Linked DNA regions of Homo sapiens: region 1 is linked to region 2. The links are contacts of gene promoters, found by promoter capture Hi-C in blood cells and fetal thymus (Javierre and others, 2016). All regions are on one chromosome and are shown on one strand. The core of a region is centred on a gene start or on the middle of the fragment in contact, and the rest is flanking DNA. Distances in the headings are between cores, read along the strand shown. Region 1 overlaps LAMA3 (laminin subunit alpha 3). Region 2 holds the start of LAMA3 (laminin subunit alpha 3).

What was found. Contacts are between HindIII fragments. The CHiCAGO score rates a contact against its expected background, and 5 or more counts as called.
Region 1: a fragment that was not itself captured here is called in contact with the fragment with the promoter of LAMA3 in region 2 in 1 of 17 cell types (M1 macrophages); the score reaches 5.3 in M1 macrophages.

Annotation. Positions count from the first base shown.
Region 1 is chr18:23,801,486-23,804,705 of GRCh38, forward strand. The region is part of intron 12 of LAMA3 (laminin subunit alpha 3); the gene reads left to right. Among named protein-coding and RNA genes, the nearest start is that of LAMA3, 110 kb to the left of the region's middle. The HindIII fragment of the contact is 4,878 bases long and covers 1-3,220 here.
Region 2 is chr18:23,688,153-23,691,468 of GRCh38, forward strand. It overlaps LAMA3 (laminin subunit alpha 3), which reads left to right and starts at 1,301. Exons shown (of 75, transcript NM_198129.4): 1 at 1,301-1,825. The coding sequence starts at 1,532. RefSeq lists an enhancer at 660-1,209. The HindIII fragment of the contact is 9,125 bases long and covers 1-3,316 here.

The DNA.
Region 1 (3,220 bases), core at 454-2,953, 110 kb after region 2:
TAGAGCCTAAAAACCTCCATGGGGGCACAGGTGTCCCTTTCATATACAAATTCCCTTTTCTTTGGATAGATACTCAGTAGTGAGATGGCTAGATTGTATGGTAGTTCTACTTTTAGTTTTTAAAGAAACCTCCATACTGTTTTCCATAATCGCCGTACCAATTTACATTCCCACTAATAATGTATAATAGTTTCCTTTTCTTCACATCCTTTCCAGCATTTGCTATTTTTGGTCTTTTTGATGATAGCCATTCTAACGGAGATGATATCTCATTGTGGGTTTGATTTTCATTTCCCTGATGATTAGTGATGTTGAACATTTTTTCGTATACTTGTTGGCCTTTTGTATGTCTTCTTTTTAGAAATGTCTATTTATATCCTTTGCCCACTTTTAAATCACATTATTTGATTTTTTGCTGTTCAGTTGGAAAACAAAGATTTTTGTTTTACATACATATAACATACGCATATACAGAAAAAACATATTCATAACAAAATAGGAAGAAATACTCACTACAATTACAAATACTAATTTCTGTAACAGGTCACATGGTCATAGCTGGTATAAGTTGAGCATCCCAAATACAAAAATCCAAAATGCTCCCGCATCCAGAACTTTTTGAGTGCTGACACGATGCTCAAAACAAATACTCATTGGAAAATTTTGGATTTTGAATATTCAAATTTGAGATGCCCAATCAGGTATAATGCAAATATTCCAAAATCTGAAAAAATAAAAAATCTAAAACATGTTTGGTCCCAGCATTTCGGATAAGGGATACTCAAACTGTATTTGTAACTACCTTCTTCTGCCACCCATTCCATATTCCCTTTGCCCTCAGCAAGCACCTCATGGTTCTTTACCTGGTGAAGTGACACAAATCTTCATTCTTGAAGGGTCTAGGACATCAGTAGTCTTGCCTGAATTGGGTTGTAGTTTTCCATTGACTTTAATCACAAGACATGGTAATACTAAGAGACACCTTAAGTCATCTCCTGTATTCTAGACATATTCTTCCTTACCTCCATTTTTGAAGAACAGTTCATTTTCCCCTTGGTAATTAGTGGAACACAATTGCTTCTATCTTCATCTGTTGATTCAGAGGAATGAGGAAACCATGTAGCAGTCTTAACTTCCAGTTCAATAGAATGATCGTCACGTCTCCTGGTAGAAGCATTTCTTCCTCTGGAACTAAGACCTCTCGACCACCAGAGCAGAAGGCAGCTGGGATTGGAAGCTAGTTGATTACTAGGGTTTATAGTGAGTGATGCCACTCCCATTTCTACCTCTTGATTCCTGAACTCGTGAATCTTGGCTATCAGAGAAACCATATGTTGTACAATGATTCAGAGCAGATACTGCTTTCTGGAGAAACTTGCCTCAGCCCCGCAAGGTACTGCCACCTAGTAGTTTTCACCTACAGTGAAAACTCACTGTAACTGAGTTTTCAAAAGGCCATTCCACTGTTGTATTAAGCCACCTGTTCAGGATGGTGGGGAAAGTGGTGAGATTAGTGAATTCCATGACCATGGGCTCACTGCTGCATTCCATTTGTTGTGAAGCGAGTTCTTTGATCAGAAGCAATACTATGTGGATACTATGACAGTAAATAAAGCATTCTGTAAGTCTACAAATGTAGTTTTGACAGAAGCATTGCATGCAGAGAAGGAATTTCTGTATCCAAGTAAGTGTCCATTCCAATAAGAACAAAACACTTCCCCTTCCATGATAGGACAGTTCAAAGTAATTAACCTGCCACCAGGTAGCCAGCTGATTACCCTGGAGAATGGTGCCATATTGAGGACTTGGTATTGGTCTCTGCTGCTCGCAGACTGGGAACTCAGCTGTGGTGAGTGGAAGTACATTTTGCTGAGCCCAGGGATAAACTCCATCCCTGCCCCCATGGCTACTTTGTTATGAGCCCACTGGACAATGATAGAAGTGGATGGGACAGAGGCTGCCGGGTATCCACAGAACAGATCCTCCTGTCTACTTGGGAAGCATTCACCTAGGACATGTTTCTTAGCCATTTAGAGAGGGTTTTCACTCAGACCCTTCCCCAGATCTTCCTGTCACCAATTTTCCAATCATGTTCCTTCAAAGTCCCTGGCCATCCAGTCAAAGAATTGGCCACAGCCCATTAATCAATATGTAATTTCACATCTGGCCATTTCTCCTTCCAAGCAAAGTGAACAACCAGCACACTGCTCAAAGTTCTCCCTACTGGGAGGATTTCCCTTCACCACTGTCCTTCAGGATGTCCCAGAAAGGCACAAATGTGCTGCAGCTGTCCACTTTCAGGTGATGCCTCCATATCTTGCAATACCTGGTCTAAAACAGGCCTAAGTTTTCTCTTTCTTTGTTAACTGATCACAAGGAACTCACCATAATGCTGTAGATGTGGAATGTAGCAGGAGTGTGGAGTGTGGCGTTCTTTGCATAGCTTACTTGTGTAGAGGCTGCTTGGATCCAATCTTATGTATACCACTTCCATTTGATGACGGAATGCTGCTGTGCTTGCCCAACTTATGGCTTCGTGGGTCAGATAACACCCAGTTCATAATGGTCAGCTCACATCACATAGTGACTTCATGGCCCATGGTTAAGCCTTCTGTCTCTACTAAGACCCAGTAGAAAGTGAAAAGCTGTTTCTCAAAAAAAAGTTATCTGCAGAGGATGGCTTATATGTAGACGGTGGCAGGACTTTGCTCCAAAATCCTAAGGGTCTGCACTGTCGTTCACTTATGTGGGCCTGCTGAAGGCTCCAAAAAGCATCCCTATCTGCCACTGACACTTAAAAGCACCATTAGATCTGCTCAGTCATATGCTTTAAGTGGCAGAACAGCTTACACAGCAGCCTGGACCTGCTGCAGAGCCTTCCCTTGTTCTGGGACTCACACTACTGGACCCTTAGAAATTTAACTGAGGTAGAAGACTCTGGATGTTTTATTGCATTTAATTTTTACCTCCTGACACCCAAATGTCTTACCAATAAGTCTAGAGTAGTTGCTACTTCTTGTTCACTAGCTCCAATTAGCATAATGTCCTCAATGTAATAGACCGATGTGATGCCTTATGGAAGGGAAAGGTGATCAAGATCCCTGTGACCTAAATTATGACACAGGACCAGAGTTGATAGACCCCTGATGTAGGACAGTGATATAGTTTGGATGTTTGCCCCCTCCAAACCTCGTGTTGAAATCTGATCCCCAATGTTGTA
Region 2 (3,316 bases), core at 51-2,550:
AGAATTTTATAGTTTTAGCTTTATAGTTTAGCTCTCTAAATGTAAAATTTAGAGATCTTAAATCCATTTTGAGTTAATTTTTGCATATAGTATGAGGTGGGGATCCTACTAGATTATTTTGGGATGTCCAGTTTTCCCAGCAGCGTTTATTAAAAATATTATTCTTTTCCCATTGAATAGTCTTGGCACCCTGTTGAAAATCCAGTGACCATAAATGTAACGGTTTATTTCTGAGCTCTCAATTCTATTCCATTGATCTATGTTTATCGTTATGTCGGTACTACACTGTCTTGATTACTGTAGTTTTGTATTAAGTTTTAAAACTAGGAAGCGTGAGTCCACTGACTTCATTCTTTCTCAGAATCGTTTTGGATTTTCTAGGTCTCTTGCATTTCCACATGAATTTTAGGATCAGCTTGTCAATTTCTGAAAAAAAAAAAAGTCGGGATTTTGATCCCTATCAAAATCCATTGTGTTGAATTGTAGGTTGCTTTAGGAAATATTGCCATCTTCACAATATTGTCTCCTAATCCATGAACATGGGAGGCTTTTCCACTCATTTAGGTCTTTTAACATTTCTTTCAAAGAGGTTTTGCAATTTTTATTGTACAAATATTGCATTCCTCTAATTTCTTCGAGGGCCTATGTGGGTTCTGTTTTAGTAGGGTGTTCTGCATATAAGACCAAGCATCAGTCCGGGGTCGTGGGGGGAGGGGGTCTTCTCTGTTCTGAGGCCATCATGGCAGGTGGCGTACCTCACTCAATCTCTGTTAGCTTATTTGTAAAATTGAGCAGATTAGGCATCTAAAGGATTTCCTCTAAGGTTCCTTTCCAGGTTGGCAAATTACAACTTGCATTATTGGCTGTCTTTTAAATATGTACGTTCCACCACTCCCAGTTCCCTGGCTCAGCCTGTGGCTGCAGTGCCACAGGGATCCTAGGTGCACAGTGTTGAGGAGTTGACGACTCAACACTTGGCTGGGAAATCGAAATGTCTTTGATGTGAGTTCTGTAGGTAGTGGCAGTTTCCTCTGCTCTCAACCAAATTCGTTTACAAGCCTCCTTTACTCTTAGGTCACAGGTGGCTTTTCTGGCTTTGACCTGAGCGGTGAGTATCCAGAGAGGAGAACGATCTAATTAATTTCTGTCCTGGCGCCTGGAGGGTTCGAAGATCCCAGGCTCCCGTTCCCGCCGCCTGGGTGGGAGCCCGGGAACGCCTCTCCCATTCCCCGCCCGCGAAGTTTGCAGCGCGCCTCGCGCGGGAGAGACGCCGTCTGCTGGCGCGCGGCTGAGCGCTGTCAGTTCCTGATCCGGCTGGTGCCCGCTCCAGCCGCGGCAGGTTCCAGAGCTGAGAGGCCACCCCCACGCCGCGGGCTTCCAGCGCGTGGAGCAAGGGGAGCGGCCCCGGCGCCGCCCATATCCCCGGCTGCGCTAGTCCTGGCGCTGCAGGTCCGGGAGGCGCAGGCGGAGAGCGGCGGTGCCCCCGAGCCCCTCTGCGGACGGCTCAGGCGGGAGGACCCCGCGCGGCTGGATGGCGGCGGCCGCGCGGCCTCGGGGTCGGGCACTGGGGCCAGTACTGCCGCCGACGCCGCTGCTCCTGCTGGTACTGCGGGTGCTGCCAGCCTGCGGGGCGACCGCTCGGGATCCCGGGGCCGCGGCCGGGCTCAGCCTTCACCCGACTTACTTCAACCTGGCCGAGGCGGCGAGGATTTGGGCCACCGCCACCTGCGGGGAGAGGGGACCCGGCGAGGGGAGGCCCCAGCCCGAGCTCTACTGCAAGTTGGTCGGGGGCCCCACCGCCCCAGGCAGCGGCCACACCATCCAGGTGAGGGCCTCGGAGAGAGCCGGGGTGGGCGCGCCTTTTCCTTCCCGCGCCGGCCAGACACCCGGAGAAGGGATCGGGCCCTTTCCTCACGCGCGCTAGTGGCTCCGGGCGACTGGGAAGGGCAGCCCCCATCCCCGCGCGCGAGGGCCCACGACCCAGGAGCGATCTCGTGGAAGCACCGCACCGGCACCACCGGCCCGAGGCGAGGAGGGGGAGCACGCGAGGTGACATGAGGCTGTGGTCAGGTTCGGGCTGGTGGAGGGGAAAGTGTGAGGCTGCGCTCTAAGAGATGCAGGCGCCTCGGCCCTTCCCGCCTCCGTCACCCACGGAGCGTCCCGCCAGGCTTGAGTCCTCGAGGGTTCAGGGGCGCCTCCTGCCCCACCTCCCGGGCCTTATTCGGAGAAGTCGGTGGCAATTACCTTCTGTGGTGTATTTTAAGAGAGAATTTTTAGGTTATAACAGCGGTATCACTCTAATGTTACTGAAAAGATTCACTTCACTGCACTGCCTGAAGTGCCACCATCCAGTCATTGGGGGCGAATGAGACCTTAGGCGGACAGAGATAGAAAGGCTCTCAGAGATCCGAGCCTCACCGCGAACACCCGGGGCAAACGACATTGCGGTGCATGTTAAGCAGCATCTTGCAGTGCCTGGCCCTTACTCACAGGTCTCAGCCAGGCAAGAGTGCAGTGGTGCGATCACGGCTCACGGCAGCCTCGAACTCCTGGGCTCAAGGGATCCTCCCGCCTCAGCCTTGGGCGTAGCTGGGACTACAGGCGTGCCCCCCCGTGCCTGGCAATTTTTTTTTTTTTTTTTTGAGACAGAGTCTCGCACTGTCGCCGGGGCTGAAATGCAATGGTGCGATCTCGGCTCACTGCAACCTCAGGCCTGGCAATTATTTATTTATTTATTTATTTATTTATTTATTTATTTATTTATTTATTTTTCTGTAGAGACAGAGTCTGGCTATTTTGCCCAAGCTGGTCTCAAACTCTTAGCCTCAAGCTGTCCTTCTGTCTTGACCTCCCAAAGGGGCAGGAGAATTTGAATCCAGTCCTGACTTCAAATCCTGGACACTAAGCCCAAATTGCCTCCTTCTTCTGCAAAGTATTGTTGAGGAACAGGAAGTGGGAAGAGGGAGCGATTTTGGAGCTTGGGTTCTAAAAGAGCAAGGTTATCATTGGGTGTCTAGATTAGTGTTTTAGAAACTCTTTTGACCATGCACTTCCATAAATGACAAGTTGTTGAACATCTAGTGCCATATGTGCTTATTTACTTATAAACTACATGCATGTATTATATTGATATGTGTTGTGCATATTTTAAAACATGCAAAAACAGAAATCTAAAAGACAAAATAACAATGATGAAAATATTTTTACCATATTTATATATTATCTATATTATAAAACATGCAAGAAAAGAAACTAAAAATATAAAATAACAATGATGAAAATACTTTTAACAGTCCTCAAATAATTTTGCTTTCTC